Linked DNA regions of Homo sapiens: all the other regions are linked to region 1. Evidence: promoter capture Hi-C in 16 types of primary human blood cells and fetal thymus (Javierre and others, 2016). All regions are on one chromosome and are shown on one strand. Each heading gives the region's core, a stretch centred on a gene start or on the middle of the fragment in contact. The rest is flanking DNA. Distances are from core to core; before and after follow the strand shown.

The links. Contacts are between HindIII fragments. The CHiCAGO score rates a contact against its expected background, and 5 or more counts as called.
Region 2: a fragment that was not itself captured here is called in contact with the fragment with the promoter of PPP4R3B in region 1 in 4 of 17 cell types (M2 macrophages, fetal thymus, total B cells and 1 more); the score reaches 8.7 in M2 macrophages.
Region 3: a contact is called between a fragment that was not itself captured here and the fragment with the promoter of PPP4R3B in region 1, in 1 of 17 cell types (activated CD4 T cells). The highest score is 6.1, in activated CD4 T cells.
Region 4: a fragment that was not itself captured here is called in contact with the fragment with the promoter of PPP4R3B in region 1 in 1 of 17 cell types (fetal thymus); the score reaches 6.2 in fetal thymus.
Region 5: a contact is called between a fragment that was not itself captured here and the fragment with the promoter of PPP4R3B in region 1, in 3 of 17 cell types (total CD4 T cells, total CD8 T cells and total B cells). The highest score is 6.1, in total CD4 T cells.
Region 6: a contact is called between a fragment that was not itself captured here and the fragment with the promoter of PPP4R3B in region 1, in 1 of 17 cell types (total B cells). The highest score is 5.4, in total B cells.
Region 7: a contact is called between a fragment that was not itself captured here and the fragment with the promoter of PPP4R3B in region 1, in 1 of 17 cell types (total B cells). The highest score is 5.2, in total B cells.

What each region holds. Positions count from the first base shown.
Region 1 is chr2:55,616,215-55,618,948 of GRCh38, forward strand. It overlaps PPP4R3B (protein phosphatase 4 regulatory subunit 3B), which reads right to left and starts at 1,408. Exons shown (of 17, transcript NM_001122964.3): 1 at 930-1,408. The coding sequence starts at 1,071. It overlaps PPP4R3B-DT (PPP4R3B divergent transcript), which reads left to right and starts at 1,716. Exons shown (of 3, transcript NR_186624.1): 1 at 1,716-2,168. RefSeq lists enhancers at 364-1,290, 1,291-2,215, 1,309-1,708, 1,729-1,778. The HindIII fragment of the contact is 10,945 bases long and covers 1-2,734 here.
Region 2 is chr2:53,929,191-53,931,924 of GRCh38, forward strand. It overlaps PSME4 (proteasome activator subunit 4), which reads right to left. Exons shown (of 47, transcript NM_014614.3): 10 at 2,645-2,734. Among named protein-coding and RNA genes, the nearest start is that of PSME4, 40 kb to the right of the region's middle. The HindIII fragment of the contact is 648 bases long and covers 1,062-1,709 here.
Region 3 is chr2:53,951,981-53,954,714 of GRCh38, forward strand. All of the region lies in intron 1 of PSME4 (proteasome activator subunit 4), which reads right to left. Among named protein-coding and RNA genes, the nearest start is that of PSME4, 18 kb to the right of the region's middle. The HindIII fragment of the contact is 601 bases long and covers 1,122-1,722 here.
Region 4 is chr2:53,969,901-53,972,634 of GRCh38, forward strand. PSME4 (proteasome activator subunit 4) reads right to left here and starts at 1,093. Exons shown (of 47, transcript NM_014614.3): 1 at 643-1,093. The coding sequence starts at 884. It also overlaps a transcript of ACYP2 not described here. RefSeq lists enhancers at 1-705, 972-1,266, 1,562-1,611 and silencers at 762-961, 936-1,097, 972-1,361. The HindIII fragment of the contact is 6,659 bases long and covers 1-2,734 here.
Region 5 is chr2:53,989,838-53,992,571 of GRCh38, forward strand. It overlaps a transcript of ACYP2 not described here. Among named protein-coding and RNA genes, the nearest start is that of PSME4, 20 kb to the left of the region's middle. The HindIII fragment of the contact is 187 bases long and covers 1,279-1,465 here.
Region 6 is chr2:54,103,198-54,105,931 of GRCh38, forward strand. It overlaps a transcript of ACYP2 not described here. Among named protein-coding and RNA genes, the nearest start is that of ACYP2, 11 kb to the right of the region's middle. The HindIII fragment of the contact is 305 bases long and covers 1,243-1,547 here.
Region 7 is chr2:54,546,057-54,548,790 of GRCh38, forward strand. The region is part of intron 2 of SPTBN1 (spectrin beta, non-erythrocytic 1); the gene reads left to right. The region is part of intron 1 of SPTBN1-AS1 (SPTBN1 antisense RNA 1); the gene reads right to left. Among named protein-coding and RNA genes, the nearest start is that of SPTBN1-AS1, 11 kb to the right of the region's middle. The HindIII fragment of the contact is 349 bases long and covers 1,212-1,560 here.

The sequences.
Region 1 (2,734 bases), core at 158-2,657:
AAAACATCATGACAGGGATTAAATACTTAGTATAGAAATTACAGTGCTGCATTTATCCTTTCCTCATTAAGAACAAAAGAACACCTTCTGTAGAAGTGATGACTATTTAAAATAAAAGGGAACAAGCAAGAATACAAAATATGTCAAGACTAAACCTAAGATTATTTTTCTAACTGCCTATATCAGTTGTTCAAATCAAGTCCAGATTATACTATAAAAGGCATTTTAATTACGGCTCTACATTTTGTAATTTAAAATACTTCACATGACTACAATAAACCAAAGAACACAGCAGTTTACAACCTGCTTTGGTGTCCCAACTTGCTTAGATTGTAAGGCATTCACTTTCTCATAGCGCCTTCTACAAAGGCAGCCCGAAGAAATGCAGACTACAGATGTATGTGCTTGTGTGTCCATGTATCGTGGCAACAGTCAGCAATACAGCCAGGAAAACGTGCCTTTCGGTTTTCCCCAGCACCTGTCGACTGTGGCACCTGGGGCCCGTTGGTACAATTTTTTTTTTTTAAAAACACTCGGAAAGAAAAGTTTCCCTAAACCGTTTGTACTAGACGTATAATGGATAAGTAAATAAAGGGGGAGGAAGGTGTCAGCTCCTAGGGCGACATCAGTACCTAGTCTCTCACTACTTCCTCCCTTCTCTCTCACACTCTCCCCTCTTCAAAAGAGGAGGGACTGGAAAGGAAGGAGTCCAATCCTTAAGAGAGATGGGAGAAGGACAGAGAGTCTCGGTCTCCGAGGATAAGTCCAGTCAAAAGTACAGTACTTTGTTTTTGCCGTACACAAGAGCCAGTTCAGAACCAACGCGCTGTCCCGAAGGAGTAGCAACGGTAACGGGCCCAGGGCCCTAAACCCAAGCTGTGCCCCAACCAGAGGCACTATCCCCTATTCTACAGTTCCGATAACCTTACCGTCGGACTCTGCCCGAACCAGCAGCGACATCCCCTTGAGCTCCTCCACGTAAGTGGAGGAGACGTGCCCGGTGCCTCGGTCGTCCCATTGCCGGTCTTCGTTCAGGGTATAGACCTTCACTCGCCGCCGCGTATCCGACATGGTGGCTGCTGTCTCCACCGCTCTAGCCGCCGCCTCCTCGCTTACCTCGTCCGCGCTCCTCACTCTTAGGAGACGGTAAAGGCAGTAGTGGCGGTGGCGGCGGCGGCGGCTTCGGAGAGGCCCGAATTCACCATGGCTCCAAAGGTTCAGCCGCGAGAAGGGGTGACAAGAGCCACTGAGGCCTCTCCGCCCGGAGGCCCCGTTACCTCTCACTTCACCCGCGCATACACCCACTCTCCCGTCTCTTTGCCCCCCAGGGCTCGCTTGCTCTCCCGCCGCCGCGGTAACTACTACAGATCCGCCATCTTGTAACCCGACTCTCTCTGCCTTTCTCTTCCTCCTCCAGCAGGCTCGCACGGGCTGTCCTAGCAGGGGCTACGGCGGCCGACAAGTCCCATGAGCAGCACCTCCGCTTCTGCACGCGCTTCCCAGGCCGGAATGCTCGGCGCTCTCGCGAGGAGGGGTACCGACTGGGGCGGGAGTACTTCGGCGAGACTTCCTCCTCTTTCGGCCCGACTTCCTCCTCTTTCGGCCCCGCCTCTTGGCGCGGGGTCGCAATTGGGCGGGAGGTTCTCGCGATCTCCCCGTCCACGCCTGCGCCGCGAGAGGCCGCTAGGTGGAAGGGGACTTCGGTTCCGCACGTCGTCATGTTGTTGGATGGCACCAGTATGTGACGTTCCTAGGAACTTAGCTCTGAGGAAAAAACAAAGCAAACCGGGGAAGTACGTAGCCTTGAACCGGAGTAACCAGGGACAGAAAGGAAGGAAAAGGGTTTCATACCTTCACGGAACGACGCTCACTTCGTCCGCCTGAGGAGGAAAAATAAGTTTAAACCTTTCTGTGAAAAAGAACGTGGAGCCCTTTCTGCCGAATGGAAACCCGCTAAACCCCGTTATGGAGTCTGCTACAATTAAGCATCTAACCAGGAATTGTCTATGGACACAACTCTCCAGGCAATTCATGCAGAAAGTGTGTTGACGATTTCCTGTTTCTTGCAGAGCGCTTCACCGTTAAGGCTCTTAGTAGCTGGCGATTGTAAAGCACATTTTCCGCTTCATGAAAATACAGTGCTCTTCTTGTGTTTGTAACCTTGGAAAGTAAGTCTGCTATGATAAGTTTAGGGAAGTGGCGGGGAGCTACTTTCCTAACATATCTGTGATTGTTTTGATACTTCTCAGTTTCTCGCGGGCATTTCCTGCGTTCTCTATAGGGCTCTCTTGCACTGAATAAGGAAAGGAGGAATTCTCTCTGCATTGAGGCTATTATCGCACATTGTGCGGTGGATATAGTCACGCGCTGGGTCGTAGTAGCGTGTCGTTTATTTCAGTCCAGCTCACTCTTGGTAGAATCCCTTTATTCGTTTTGTTGTTTTTGATAGTCTCTCTCTGCTTCCCAGGCTAGAGTGCAATGGCGCTATCTCGACTCACTGTAGCCTCCGCCTTGAGGGCTCAAGCGATCCTCTCACCTCAGCCTCCCGAGTAGCTGGGACCGTAGACGCCTGCTCCCCATCCCCGCTATATTCGTTCTTTAATACAGTCTCTCAGCTTGTTCAGCTGCCACTTCTGTGCAGCTCATTAGCCTGATCGGTGAAAACTAGGCGAGACGCGCACACTGACCCTGCAGTGCATCTTGGGAGTTGTAGTCATAACTAATCAATGGTCTT
Region 2 (2,734 bases), core at 136-2,635, 1.7 Mb before region 1:
TGATAGATCCTGCATGATTTCAGCCATCCTAATCTATATTATACTAATCTAACGGTCAGTCAGTGGAATAACAAGTTACAGATACTCTACTCTTTCTTTCCCCTGACCACCCCCAACCCTGGAGTCAGGGTTTTACTCTGCCCCAGGCTGGAGTGCAGTGGCCTGATCACAGCTCACTGCAGCCTCCACATTGCCCAGATCAGGTAAACCTCCTGCCTTGGCTTCTCAAGTAGCTGGGACTACTGGCAAACGTTACCACTCCCGGCTAACTTTTGTATTTTTTTTGTAGTGACAGAGTTTTGCCATGTTGCCCAGGCTGGTCTCAAATTCCTGAGCTCAAACAATCCATCTTCCTCAGACTTCCAAAGTCCTGGGACTACAGGCATAAGCCAGCCTAGCTGCTTATTTTTTTTTTTTTTAATGGAGAAAACATACCAAACTCTTTAACAGAAGCTTTCTTGGAGATGTAAAACTAAGTGTCTAAGATTTTTTTCTACATTTTTAGTTTTTAAAAAAGTTTTGCTTTTATTAAAAATAAAATCTTTGGCCAGCCATGGTGGCTCACACCTGTAATCCCAGCACTTTGGGAGGCCAAGGCAGGCGGACTGCTTGAGGTCAGGAGTTCAAGATCAGCCTGACCAACATGGTGAAACGCCATCTCTACTAAAAATACAAAAATTGGCTGGGCATGGTGGCAGACACCTGTAATCCCAGCTACTCGGAAGGCTGAGACAGGAGAATCGCTTGAACCCGAGAGGTGGAGGTTGCAGTGAGCTGAGATCATGTCACTGCACTCCAGCCTGGGCAACAGAGCAAGAGTCTGTCTCTAAATAAATAAATAATAAATAAATAAATAAATAAATAATAAATTTTAAAAGGTGATGCCACTTCAAAACAGCACCAAATTACAACTGAAAGTCTCAAAAAATGTCATTGTATTGTCAATTTGGTCTATTAAATATTTATCTTGGCCAAGCATTCAATATCACTTAATATGCTGATATTACATTTGTCCAAAATTTTAGGACTAAAGAAAAACGTGATAGGTCTATTTATTTATAAGCTTTGTTCTTTCTACTAAGAATTTAGCTCACTATTCATAATTAATCAGCTGAAAATAACAAAGCAAAGGGGAACTAAAGAAACATCAAAAACACTCCAAACTTCAAAATGTTAGCTAAGCAAACAGATGAAGTCCCTCCTCTCCAGGGAGCATCAGGGAACCTAACATTAACTGTTGGCTTCTGCTACTCTGTGGAGGCCAAGAAGCAAAGAATACTGGGGGTTGAAGACGGACAGGAAACTGCCTATCTTCCCCCACTCCATTTCCTAATTAAGTTCTATAAGCTGGAAGAGTTTCAATGCCCCAAGATGTATATGTAAAAATAGGAGAAGTTGGGAAAATGAAGTACGGCCTAACTTGAATATTTATGGCAATGAGGGCAGGTAAGGCAGCATCAACAGCTCAAAATTATAGATAATGGAGGCCCATTTTGGTTAAGATCTTGAACACGGTATCCTTCCCCAAGTAAATATGACCAACACTTATTCTGTCTCAACAATAAGTCAGAAAATAGGCTATAGTCTGAATTCTACCACTAGGGACCTTGGACAAATTTTTATGGAACTCAATGGCTAGATCCTTCTGGGTTCTAAAAACTAACATTCCTCCTCTATATTTGACAAAAACATTTAGAAAGAGATCATAAAGCTTCAGATAGTGGAAGAATCAGAGGTACAACAGAAAGCTTAAGTAATTTGCTCTTGAACAAGTTACTTTAAAAATTGCTCTCAAATTAAGAGTAGGCCGGGCACAGTGGCTCACACCTGCAATCCCAGCACTTTGGGAGGCCAAGGCGAGTGGATCACCTGAGGTCAGGAGTTCGAAACCAGCCTGGCCAACATGGTGAAACGCCGTCTCTACTAAAAATACAAAAATTAGCTGGGTGTGGTGGCGGGCGCCTGTGATCCCACCTACTCAGGAGGCTGAGGCAGGGGAATCCTTGAACCAGGAAGGCGGAGGTTGCGGTGAGCCAAGATTTGCACTCCAGCCTGGGGGACTACAGCAAAATTTCATCTCAAAAAAAAAAGAAAAGTAGCTGTCTCTCTCTTTGTAAGTATACCACGCCTATTCTGTGACAGTGGCTAGGCAAGTAAAGAGTTTTCCTTACCATTTCAACACACAAAACACAATGAATAAAATAAAACTTACACTGTAAAAACAACACACCTGAATATATAATACATGAAAATAATAAACACAATTTTCTTCTCTACCACTGATTCTAAGAAATAAAAGAAATCCAAAAACCACTTTCACTGCCATATTCTCAATCCTTAGTGACACTCAACATTTCGATCTAAAAAGGAAGGCCAGATCTTAATTCATAAGCATATAATTTTGGTAACTAAAATGTGTGAAGAATCCAAAAGATGTATGTTACCCATTTCATTTCAATTTTTTTCTCTCCAATAAACCTTTATCAAGTTACCAATCATTACATTAAAATGTCCTGCTTCTCCTCTAGGAACAGGAATAAGCATCGAAGAAGCAAAACAGAAGCCACAGAGGAGAAAAGAGAATCGAGCTGAACAGACCAAAAGAAAAACCTAGCTGTGGCTGAGACTCCCACTAACCACTTACCTTTCAAGTACAGGGGGTATTACCAATTCAGGTCTCATGAGTGCAAGATTCTGCAAAGCCTGGGCTGCTTCTAGACTACCGGTTTTGCTA
Region 3 (2,734 bases), core at 172-2,671, 1.7 Mb before region 1:
AATTTCACTCTAAATTTAGGAGCAAAAGCTAGAATCATTAAAATGTTATTTTAAATGAACACAAACATCTCCCTAAAAACTGGAACACATTTTTAAGATAAAGACAGAAGACATCAAAGAAAAATTCCCTGCTTTCAGTGGCTGCTTCAGGCCTTGTCAATATTCCAGATACCAGCCAGGCGTGGTGGCTCATGCCTGTAATCCCAGCACTTTGGGAGGCCGAGGTGGGCAGATCACGTGAGATTAGGAGTTCGAGACCACCAGCCTGGCCAATATGGTGAAACTTTGTCTCTACTACACACCTGTAATCCCAGCACTTTGGGAGGCCGAGGCAGACGGATCACGAGGTCAAGAGATGGAGACCATCCTGGCCAACATGATGAAACCCCTGTCTCTACTAAAAATACAAAAATTAGCTGGGCATGGTGGTGCGCGCCTCTAATCCCAGCTACTCGGGAGGCTGAGGCAGGAGAATTGTTTGAACCTGGGAGGCGGAGGTTGCAGCTGAGCCGAGATGGTGCTAGAGTTCTCCAGCCTGGGCAACAGAGAGAGACTCAGTCTCAAACAAACAAACAGAAAGATTCCAGATGCCCCTGGAGTCATGCATTCATTCTCCCCTGTGGTTAGGATACTTCTGCAGAAAAACTAGAGAAACACTGTACTCTAAGCCAGCAGTCCCCAACCTTTTTGGTACCAGGGAGAATCTCATAAGGAGTACACAACCTAGATCCCTTGCACGGGCAGTTCACAATAGGATATGAGCTCCTATGAGAATCTAACATCATGGCTAATCTGACAGGAGGTGGACCTCAGGCGGTAATGCCCAATCGCCTGTCCACTGCTCACCTCCTGCTGTGCAGCCCGGTTCCTAACAGGCCACAGACCCATACCAGTCCCTGAGCTGGGGGTTGGGGGACCCCCTGCTCCAAGCCACTGAAGTAACTTAGCTACAGCCCATTGTTTTCATTGCAGTAGACAGACAACTGTATATTTAACATTAGTTAGGGACATAAAATTAACAAAGCTCAAATTTTAATACTATAAAAAGAGACCAACAGGGGGATTCCTGGAAAGCCTAGGGCTGCTGACAAATCTAAAGATTCTGGAGGGACTCCTCAGAAAGCTTCTATTTCCCCCAGTTCCTCGCCAACCAGCAAGTGGTTCTTATCTCAGCATTTATCAAAATATGGTGCAAGAGATTTGTTTTAAAAGGGCACAAAAGTTCTAACTATAAAAAGAAAATTAATAAATTGGTCTTTATCATAAATAACTTCTAGTCACTATAAGACACCATTAAAAGTAAAAAGCCCAGAAATACATATATTTGACAAAGAACTCATATCCAAATTACTAGTAAGAAAAAGACATAATCCAATTAAAAATGGGCAAAAAGGCTGGGCGTAGTATACCTGTAATCCCAGCACTTTGGGAGGCGAAGGCAGGAGGATCAATTGAGATCAGGAGTTCAAGACCAACCTGAGCAACATGGTGAAACCCCATGTCTATTAAAAAAAAAAAAAAAAAAAAGAAAAAGAAGAACTATGCAGGGTAACTTTTAAAATGCATTATTCTTGGGATCCAAAAATCCTAGGAATATTAAATCTCAGTAAAGCTGTTTGTCTTTTTTTTTTTTTAAGGTGAATGAAAAATAAATTCCTGGAGTGCTAGAGTGCAGACTACCAATCTTCATTTTTTAGACTACTCTGGTTTGACTTTCCTGTAAGCTTAAGTTCAAAAACCCTACTTTAGACTGTATCTACAGATGGTGCATTCCCTCTTTCCAGTTAATTTTCACATTAGGTTTTAGGACTAATGATTACTATTAGGTGTCCCAAAATAACTGAAAACCCTGGTAAACAGTCACGATTGAACGTGATTGATATAGAATATTTCTTTCAACCATCCAGAATATATGGATAACAAGTCATTTTGTTCCATCCTCCCACAGGGGAAGAACAAAAAAGAGTAAAAGATAATACAATAGCATTTCCAGCCGCTTCCTCCTCACAGCCCTACAGTGTATTAATCAAATGATTTAATTTTTAATCATAAGAAAGACAGTGGGCTGGCCGGGCGCGGTGGCTCACGCCTGTAATCCCAGCACTTGGGGAGGCCGAGGCAGGCAGATCACGAGGTCAGGAGTTCGAGATCAGCCTGACCAACACAGTGAAACCCCATCTCTACTAAAAATACAAAAATTAGCCGGGTGTGGCGGCACGCGCCTGCAAACCCAGCTACTCGGGAGTCTGAGGCAGGAGAATCGCTTGAACCCGGGAGGCAGAGGTTGCAGTGAGCCAAGATCTCGCTGCTGCACTCCAGCCTGGGCAACAGAGGGAGACTCCATTTCAAAAAAAAAAGGAAAGAAAGAAAGACAGTGGGCTAGGCGCCATGGCTCATGCCTGAAATCCCAGCATTTTGGAAGGCAGAAGCAGGAGAATCACTTGAATCCAGGAGTTCAAGACCAGCCTGGGCAACAGAGTGAGACCCTCATCTCTATTATACATATTTAAAAATGTAATAATAACAAATTAATAAAAATCCTTCATCTAGCAATACTATCTTGAGTAAATAATTCAGGTCAGGTGTAGTGAGTCACACTTGTAGTCCCAGCACTTTGGGAGGCCGAGGCAGGCAGATCACTTGAGGTCAGGAGTTCAAGATCAGCCTGGCCAACATGGCAAAACCTCCACCTCTTCTAAAAAATACAAAAATTAGCTGGGCGTAGTGGCAGGCG
Region 4 (2,734 bases), core at 100-2,599, 1.6 Mb before region 1:
GAGCAACACACAATCCAAAACAACACTGTCCACATAAGACGTTAAGCTCAAGAATGAGGTCTGACTTTAAACGACCCTTTTCGATCAACTCCGCCAGGTCTGAGAGGGCCCCCAAAAAGCAAAACCCTTAAGTTTCCCTATGGTCTTCTCTCCATTCAGAAAGTTACTAGACGCCAACGGAGATGCGAAGAGGCGGGGATCGTAGGGGAAGGAAGAACCGGAGGAAGCAAGGAGACAAGTCAAGGAACTCCCCCAAAGACAAATTCTCTTTGCCCCGCCTCTCCCATGCGCAAAAGTCCACGGAGGACCCTTGAGAAAGGCTCACCTCTCTCCCTCGGGGCCGGGGCCCTTGGGCTACCCAGGGCCCCCCAGGTGGGAAGACAACAACCCGAACACTTCGGGAGAAGCAGATGCGGAGGACGTAGAGGGATGGTAAAGACCCGGGAAGTCCCGTAGGAAAGTGGCAGGGAGGACGGCTTGAGTACTTCACAGGCTCTGTCACGACCCTGGGATCACCGCTCGGGGACAGCTCCAGCGAGGACAGAGCTAAGGGTCCAGCCCTCTGGACAAAGAGCAACCATCCCCGACACCTCTCACTGAGCCTTTCCCCCCGGCCCGGCCCGCAGGCCCGGGCACACTTACGTGGAGAGTTTCCTGGTCCAGAAGAGGCCCCCGGGCCACAGCTCTTGGAGCTGCACGGCCCGGCCCAGGTTGCATTTGATCTGGGCCAGCTGCAAGTCGGACTCGGCGTCTAGCCGCTCCGCGTAGGGCAGCAGCTTGTTGTAGACGATCTCCTTCTGCGGGACGAAGCCCCGCGGGCCCGGCTCGGGACGCCCGCCCGGCTCCGGGGGCTCTCCGACTCCCGCCCGCTCGGCCGGCTCCATGAGCCCAGGGACACCCCCCCCACCCCCTCCCACCCGAACCCTCCCCGGCCCCCACCCCTCTCCGGGCTCCGCCTCCTCCGCGTCTTCGTCGCCCTGCGGCCGCTGGCGGCCCGTCGCCCTCGGACCGATCGCTAGGCCCCCTTCCCTGGCCGGCGTGCTGCTGGGCCCCACGCGGCTCTCAGTTCGTTGGCGGCGGCAGCGGCCGCTCTGCCCGCCCCGCACCGGCTCTGCTGGTGACGCTGCAGCCGCCGGGCCCAGAGGTTCCGGACCGGCCTCAAGTCACTTCCGGGGCGGGGCGGGGCGGAGCGACGGCGTCGGGGGAGGCGGTGGTGGCGGCAGCTGGAGCCCAACGGGCTGCGCCTTCTTCGCCGTGGGCCCGGCTCGGAGCCCCCACCCCAGGCCTCACCGGCCCAGCGCGAGGCTGCCTCACCGGAAACACGAGGCCGAATTCCAAGCTATTGTCCTGCTTCGCCGGGGGTCGCGCACTCCAAGCGGCAGCCCACTGGAGTCCCAGTCGCCACGACAGGCGGCAGCCAGGTCGGCCTGGTCCCCCTAGCCGAGCAGCCCCGGCTTCTGGGTTAGAGGGGTTTATGGAAAAGCCTACGTACCCACTTGCTCCTTATAGATTTATTTACTCCATCCCGCTTGTTCCTTATAGATTTAATTTTTCTGTCCCCTTTAAGTCCCCATCTTTCTGGTATTCTGGCCGCCATCATTCCAAAGAAGAAAATAGTTACTCGCTGAACAAATGCTATTTGAACAGCTGTTTTGTGTGTAAGGCGCTCAGTTTAGGCTATTGAGATAGAAAGTTTAACCTGGTTTCCGCCCTCCCAAGGACTTAGTCTAGCAGAGATAAAGACGTGAATTACAAGATAATGCTCTTAATTGCTAGATAAGTACAAGAATCCTTAGGAACTCTACAAAGAAGTTGAAACTAGGGGGTTTGAGAGGGTGTCATTTTCCTAGAAGTGATACTTAATTTAAGCTATGAAGGTTGAGTGCAAAGTTGGTTAGAAAAAGGAGGGAGGAGGACACGTATTTCAGCTGAGAGAACAGCTTTGACGCTGCAAGCATGTATTCTAAAAATTCAAAGTTCAAAATAGCGTAAGAGAGGGGACGGAGAAATGAGACTGAGAAGGCAATCCTAAGGAATTCAGAGCTTTATCCTAGAGACAAACTTCCAAAAGATTTTAAGCATAGCAGTGGGATGATATAATTTACATTTTTTAAGAATTACTCTGGCGGCCGGGCGCAGTGGCTCACGCCTGTAATCCCAGCACTTTGGGAGGCCGAGGCGGGCGGATCACGAGGTCAGGAGTTCGAGACCAGTCTGGCCAACATGGTGAAACCCCGTCTCTACTAAAAATACAAAAAAGTTAGCCGGGCGTGGTGGCGGACGCCTGTAATCCCAGCTACTCGGGAGGCTGAGGCAGGAGAATCGCTTGAAACCGGAAGGCGGAGGTTGCAGTGAGCCAAGATCGCGCCAGGGCACTCCAGCCTGGGCAACAAGAGCGAAACTCCGTCTCAAAAAATAAAAGGGCCAGGCGCGTGGTGGCTCACGCCTGTAATCCCAGCACTTTGGGAGGCCGAGGCGGGTGGATCACGGGGTCAGGAGATGGAGACCATCCTGGCTAACATGGTGAAACCCCGTCTCTACTAAAAATACAAAAAAATTAGCCGGGCATGGTGGCGGGCGCCTGTAGTCCCAGCTACTCGGGAGGCTGAGGCAGGAGAATGGCGTGAATCCGGGAGATGGAGCTTGCAGTGAGCCGAGATCGTGCCACAGCACTCCAGCCTGGGTGGCAGAGCGAGACTCCGTCTCAAAAAAAAAAAAGAGTCACTCTGGCTTC
Region 5 (2,734 bases), core at 122-2,621, 1.6 Mb before region 1:
TGTCCTATGTTGGTGGTGGCAGCAGCATCTCCACCAGACTGTTCCTGCCACTCCTACTCCCTTGGTCCCAGCCAATTGTTTGAGAATGTTTTCATCATTTCTCATCACTTCTGTGAGTTACATAAACCCTTTTCTTTTCTTTTCTTTTTTTTTTTTTTTTGAGATGGAGTCTTGCTCTGTTGCCCAGGCTGAGTGCAATGGTGTGATCTCGGCTCACTGCAACCTCTACCTCCTGGGTTCAAGCAATTCTCCTGCCTCAGCCTCCGGAGTAGCTGGGTCTACAGGCATGCACCACTACACCTGGCTAATTTTTGTATTTTTAGTAGAGGCAAGGTTTCACCATGTTGGTCAGGCTGGTTTTGAACTCCTGACCTCAAGTGACTTACCCGCCTCGGCCTCTCAAAGTGTTGTGATTACAGGCATGAGCCACCACTCCTGGCATATAACACTTTTCAGTAAATTCATCTTCTATTTAATTTAGCCAGAGTTCACTTCTAACAAGCAAGATAGTTGATATATCAAGAATCCTAGCTGGGAGCTGTGGCTCATGCCTGTAATCCCACCACCTTGGGAGGCTGAGGCAGGTGGATCACCTGAGGTCAGGAATTTGAGACCAGCCTGGCCAACATGGTGAAACCCCAAATATACTAAATATACAAAAATTAGCTGGGCGTGGTGGCGGCCACCTGTAATCCCAGCTACTTGGGAGGCTGAGGCAGGAGAATCTGTTGAACCCGGGAGGTGCAGTTTGCAGCGAGCCGAGATGGCACCATTGCACTCCAGCCTGGGAGACAAGAGCAAAACTCCGTCTTACCAAAAAAAAAAAAAAAGAAAAAAAAAGAAAAAGAATCCTCACTTTCAGCAAATTAGCATAAAGCAGTGGTTGAGAGAGCTTCTACTGTCAGAGTTTCTGATTCAGTAGGTCTGCAGATGACCTAAGAATTTGCGTTTTTTTTTTGTTTTGTTTTTTGTTTTTTAAGGCAGAGTCTCGCTCTGTCGCCCAGGCTGGAGTGCGGTGGCGCGATCTCGGCTCACTGCCAGCTCCGCTTCCTGGGTTCACGCCATTCTCCTGCCTCAGCCTCCCGAGTAGCTGTGATTACAGGTGCCCGCCACCACGCCCGGCTAATTTTTTATATTTTCAGTAGAGACGGGGTTTCACTGTGTTAGCCAGGATAGTCTAGATCTCCTGACCTTGTGATCCGCCCGCCTGGGACTCCCAAAGTGCTGGGATTACAGGCGTGAGCCACCGTGCCCTGTCGAGAATTTGTGTTTCTAACAAGCTTCCAGGTGATGCTGCTGGTCAAGTGTTCAAAGGTATGCTGCTGGTCATCATCAGATGTTGTGATTTTATAATTTTCTCTCAAATGTTGCTGAGTAGCATTCTATGAACATACCATAGTTTGCTTATCCATTCATCTGTTAATGGACGTTTTGGTTGTTCCCAGTTTCTGGGTATTACAAATAAAGCTTCAATAAATATTCATGTATAAGTCATTGTATGGACATATAACTACTTTTCTCTTGGATACATACCTAGGCATAGAATGGCTGGTGTATGTGTAACTTTTTTTTCTTTTTTTTTTTTTGAGATGGAATTTCACTCTTTCGCCCAGGTTGGAGTGCAGTGGTGCGATCTTGGCTCACTGCAACCTCTGCCTCCTAGGTTCAAGTGATTCTCCTGCTTCAGCCTCCTGAGTAGCTGGGATTACAGGCATGCGCCACCACACCTGGATAATTTTGTATTTTTAGTAGAGACAGGGTTTCTCCATGTTGGTCAGGTTGGTGTCGAACTCCCGACCTCAGGTGATCCACCTGCCTCAGTCTCCCAAAGTGTTGGGGTTACAGGTGTGAGCCACTGTGCCTGGCCGTATTTCATCTCATATATTGATTTTACCTCATTCACCCTGCTCCAGGCACTCCGACCTTCTCTCAATTTTTTTTAAGTTTTTTATATTTATTTATTTTTATTTAGCGATGAGGGCTAAGTATGTTGTACAAGATGGAGTGTAGTGGCTATTCACAAGTGCGCTCATAGGGTACTGCAGACTCGAGCTCTTGGCCTAAAGCAATCCTCCTGCCAAGCCTCCCAAGTAGCTAAGACTACAGGCACATGACACCACACCCAGCTTCTTTCAATTTCTTGATCAAGCCAAGCTTTTTCACAATGTAAGAGCTCTTGCCCCTCTTTCCCTCCTTCCTTCCTCCCTCCTTCCCTCCCTCTTTCCTTCCTTTTTTCCCCTTCCTTCCTTCCTTCCTTCCTCCTTCCCTCCCTCCCTCTCTCCCTTTCTTCCTTCTTTCTTCCTTCCTTTCTTTCTTTCCTTCCTTCCTACTTTTTTTCTTCCTTCCTTCTTTCTCCTTCCTTCCTTCCTTTCTTCTTTCTCCTTCCTTCCTTCCTTCTTTTCACCAGTGTCATAGTAAGCACTTACTTTTAATTTTAACCTAGTGAGTGAACCAAGCACTTAAATTTACTCTAAGTGCAATGGAAACCTATAGACAAGTTTTTAATCAGGAAAATGATATAAATTGATTTAAACTTTCAAAAGATCTCTCCTGACTCTGAATGGACTATAGATTATAAGGGGATAAGAATGAAAGTACTGTGACTAATTAGGAGGCGTTTTCAGCAATTCAATGAGAGATGACAATGGCTTGTATCACGGTAGAAGTAGTGCCAACGGTGAGAAGTACTCAGAGATGAGAAATATTTTGGAGGTCGGGTGCGGTGGCTCACGCC
Region 6 (2,734 bases), core at 145-2,644, 1.5 Mb before region 1:
GGAGTGTGTGAGAAAGAAGTTTTCTATCAAAAGTTGGGGAGAAGGAATAATGCATAGATAAAAGCAACACATGTCCACCACATCATTGTTTTATTTCACATTCATTCATAAACATTATTTCAGATATCTGTTGATCATTTGCATTTGGGTTTTTATGAGTTATCTGTCCATTTTGCTGTTAGGACAGTGCTTTTAAGGTGTTCCTAACATCTTAACCTTGGTCTTAATTCCTTTCAGTTTTGCATGCTGGAAATGTTTTTTTTCCAGTTTGTCATTTGCTTCCTAACTTTGTTATTTACATTTTTATTCAAGATTACTGTTTTAAATTACACATAGATCCATGCAATGGGTATTATGCTTTTACTCATCCTCATTCTAAACACTAAATAGTTGTATGGCTTAGTTATTACTCTGATTTAACTTCTGTGGCCCAGTTTTCTCATCTGTAAAATGGGCCATTGATTTTCTTCCTATTCTTCTAACATGTTTATGACTATGAAATATGATTTATTTATTTGAAAATATAGAGCTCAAGAAAGTGAATAGGAAATATTAGAGAATAGTGTTCTGAGCATTAAATATCAGAGGATCTTTAATGGTATCCCACAGGGAGTACTATGAGTGATTCATATGCAGCTTGATGTTGCTCTGTAGCCAAATAGAGCAGAATAAGCCCCTCCCCTTCCCCACCCTTTGCCCTAGCCGGCCAGGTCATGCAGCAGGCAGAGGAAATGCCTGCAGCTACACTGAATACAGATGCCAGTCAGATCCTGCAGGTTAGAGAGAGTGCTGCAAGGCTAAGCTAAACAGACCAAAGCCAGCCCCAGGTTGAACAAGAAAGCAGGCAGCCAGTATTTTCCTGAGTGTAACTGTGGGTACTGCCTCTATTGGCGGTAGAGACTTGGTACTTAAAATGAACTTCGAGCTGTTCCAAATGTACAGATTAAGAACATCTGGCATGTAGAATTAGGATTCTGATGGGAGATATATACTGATGCTGCCTGGTGTGGGACAAGAGTACATTGATGCATGGATGATGATCAGTAGTCTTGGAGAACAGAATCAAGATAGGATGAGAAAAGAAAGTATTCTTTGATTATAATGACTAAGTGTTCATAAATTCCTTCATGAGGAAGAAGTGGAAATTATCAGAGCCTCCCACTATGTACCTTTGGTATTATAGTGTATTATATATTTATTTTAAAATTGGTGTGTAGTAAAATGGATAACCATAAAAGGGCAAGCTTAGTCATGTAGCTCAAGTCCTTTTGTCACCTTTGTAAAGAACTTTTCCAGGTTTTGTTAAGTAGACATTTTTGATGTAGTTAGATTTTACCAAACTGCTAGATACAGAACTCTGGAGCCTGAGTGATACACCAAATAAACAGTCACCTTACAGGCTACTGTTTTAGTCTTATGTTAGTCTGAGTATTCTACACTTGACAAAAATCACTTTGACAATGAGAAAGTATTACATAAAAGTCATTTATCACAATCCCTCAGATCAGCAATCCTCAACCCTGGCTAAACAGTAGAACTACCTGAGAAGCTTTTTAACAACTGCTGATGGCTGGCCCAGCACCATATTAATTACATTAAAATTTCTGGAGATGGGAAGAACACTCCCCAAGTTCCCCAAGTGAACATAATGTGCAACTAGACAAAAAAGGCTGATAGGGGATTGCACAAAAAGTGGGGTCTAGTCAGGTCTTAGAGGATAACTGTGTCCACAGTGTAACACTGTGTTACAAGCTGAGGCATGGGGTATAATTCAGGTATTCCCTTCGAAGCCTACACAATTGTTAGCAAACTATCTAGTGGTCTCTGGAAGATATTTTTGGGGAAATATTCAGATGTTTTTTGAATACTATTTTGTTGAAAACAATTCAGGAAATTTCCCCCCAGGAAAACTTCTGATTTGCAGCATGCAACATAGAGCCTGAGCACTCTTCCCCGGCTTCCCACTGTACTTGGAACAGGAACCAGACTCCACCGTGGCTTCCACAGCCTGGCATGACCTTTCTCCTTGCCTTGACTGAAAGCTGTATTTAATGCCACCATCTCATATTTTATAATGCAGCAGCCACACTGGGCTTCTTTCAGTTTCTCCTACTTGGGAAACTCGAGCTTTCTACATGCTATTCCCTCTGCGTGGATTAAGTTCTCCCACCTTTCTTCTTGGTTTCTTCTTATCCATTCTTCAGCGATCACTTCCCCAGAGACCTTCCCAGACAACCTCTCTAAGCCCTAATCTACCCCCATCTCTAAATTTTTTAAATTTATTTATTTATTTATTTTTGAGGCAGGGTCTCGTTTTATTGCCCAGGCTAGAGTACAGTGGCATGATCATGGCTTACCTCCCTAGCTCAAGTGATTCTCCCACCTCAGCCTCCCAAGTAGCTGGGACTACAGGTGCAGCCTCCCGAGTAGCTGGAACTACAGCCAAACCACCATGTCTGGCTAATTTTTGTATTTTTTGTGGAGAAGGGTTTTGCCATGTTGCCCGGGCTGGTCTCTAACTCCTGGGCTCAAGCGATCCTCCTGCCTCAGGCCCCCAAATTGCTGAGATTACAGGCATGAGCCATTGCGCCTGGACCCTATTAATAAATAAAACATCACCTTCTCCCCAGCACCTACACATGGCACATACTGGGTATTCAGTAAACATCTGTTGAATGAGTGAATGAAAGACTGTTGAAGGCAGTGTGGCAGAGTGGAAAGAACACTGAATTTT
Region 7 (2,734 bases), core at 136-2,635, 1.1 Mb before region 1:
TAGAGTGTTATTAACAAGAACTAGTGTAACTTTGATTATAATCACTACAAATTACAGACCTCTTTCCTGTGTAATGATTTTTGCCATTTGCCCTTCCGTGATCTCTAATAGGCCAACTACAAGGACAATTTTTTGATCAGTAAGAACCTTGGTCTGTTGCTTCATAAGCCCTTATTATGGCAAAATTATTCGTAACAGCAAACTATGTATGTACCCACATTGACAGAATATCAGTGTTCTTTAGCTGGCTGGGCAAAGTCTAAGTGTTTCAGGATAGTTGATGATGGGGGTATCACAAAAACTTCAGAGTAAGAAAAACTTGTCTGATATCTGTTAAAGTGATCTGTATACATGTAGGCATTCTCCTGTATATGTGCATACACACACTCCTAAGTTGTGTAAATGTGTACCTGCCTGCTTGAGTATGATGCATTGCTACTATTTCTAAACTACCAATTTATTTCCCCTGTGTTTTGAGGACTCAATCTCAAAGATGCTGACTGAAAAATAAAGTTTTTGAACAATTTCATGAAGGTTGGGTTGTCGAGATCATGAGTTCTGACTCTAATGACAACTCTGTGGGAAATGGATAAACTCTGATAAACTCTATCGCACTGCACACAAATGTGAGGCTGGAAGGCAGTACGTAATTTATGAGGCCTTTTGTTGTAAAAATGAGAGTTGGCAGGATTCCGAGTAAATATCTTTTTTCCTAAGGGTGGAAGATAGGACTTGGAGAGATCAATGTGTTGGTTGACAGCATTTGAGAATGTTTGATTTGAGCTTCAGCATCATAGGTGGGGAACATGTGGCTTTATAGATCTGCTGTTTCTTCCCCTGCCCAGTGGTGCATTCCTTGTCTTTACTGAAGTATGTTTTTAAAATTCATTTTTAATGGTGGTAAAAAAAAAAAAAAAACCACATAACATAAGGTTTACCATGTTAACCATTTTTAAATGTAACTTCAGTAGAGTTAACTATGTTCATATTGTTGTGCAGTCAGATCTCTAGACCCTTTTCATTTTGAAAAACTGAAACTCTACACCCATTAAACAATAACTCACCACGTTCCCCTTCCCCCAGCTCCTGGCAACCACCATTCTACTTTCTCTTTCCATGAGTTTAACTACTCAACATACTGCATGTAAGTGGAATCATGTAATATTTGTTTTTTTTCTAACTGGCTTATTTCATTTAACATGATGTCCTCAAGCTTCATCCATGTTATAGCATATGACAGAATTTTCTTCTTTTTAAGTAATATTCAATTATATGTATATGCCACATTTTGTTTATCCATTCATCCATTGATGGACATTAGAGTTTTCACCTCTTGCTATTGCGAATGATACTGCAATGAACATAGGAATGCAAGTGTCTCTTTGAGATCCTGCTTTCAGTTCTTTTGGATATATATCCAGAAGGGGAATGGCTGGACCATATGGTAGTTATATTTTTAATTTTTTGCAGAACCTCCATACTATTTCCCACAGCAGCTGCACCATTTACATTCCTACCAACAGCGTACAAGGGTTCCAATTTCTCCATATCCTTTACTGAAGCTTTTAGAATGTTATTCAAAATACGATATAATGGAAAAAAGGCACCAACGTGGTCTCAAATTGTGTTTTTCTTGGTAGATGGTAATTAAAAGGGTAATGGTGATTAAGGTATCGGTGATAAAAATAGTAATGAAAAGAGGTGAGTGGAGAGGTAGTTATAGGTGAGCTTGGCAGGTATTAGAAAAGAGCTTAGTCTTTCTCTTCTTTCTCTTCATTCTTCACCTGTCATTAAAATTCTAGTTGTGGCCAGGCGTGGTGGCTCACACCTGTAATCCCAGCATTTGGGAGGCCAAGGCGGGCAGATCACGAGGTCAGGAGATCGAGACCATCCTGGCTAACACGGTGAAACCCCGTCTCTACTAAAAATACAAAAAATTAGCCAGGCGTGGTGGCGGGTGCCTATAGTTCCAGCTACTTGGGAGGCTGAGGCAGGAGAATGGCATGAACCCAGGAGGTGGAGCTTGCAGTGAGCCAAGATCATGCCACTGCACTCCAGCCAGGGCAACAGAGCGAGGCTCCATCTCAGAATAAATAAAATAATTCTGGTTGTGATGAATAAATCCATTTGTCAGGTATTTTTTTAAGTGCCTCCTGAGTAGGCTATTCCTCAGGACACCATAAGAATAATAAAGGAAAGATCAATGTATAAAACTGAGAAAAAGGATTTTTAAACAACAAAGTTTGCTGAGGCCAACTTTGTGTATGGTTCTACACTGGGCTGGAAAGATGACATGGAAGCTGTGCTTGTACCGCATCCTGGGCTGTCATTCTCTCTGAGCTGGTGCAAGTTGGACATCAGAGAACATAAACAGATATCACTCATCTAGCACTCAGGACAGGCCTTTTGGCTCCACCTTTGTGGTGGATGCTGGAAGGCAGTGGGGAAAGGACATTAAGGTGAGTTTTCCCTGATTCCAAGCCCTGGGCCCACTTCATTGACTGGCATGAGAAATGCACGCTACTTCCTTTGTGCTTAGCTTCCTCTTCCTTCAGGTTTGCTCTAGAAATGGCAGCAGGAATTCAGAAGGCCTGCTTTCTAATCTCCAGCATGCCGGTAGCTTGCTTTGTAACTCTGGGCACACGGCTCTGTGCCTCATTTCTCATTTTTCTTACTATAAATGAGATGGGTTGGCTTAGATAGAGGAATTTTTAAAAGGAACTTCTGACACCTG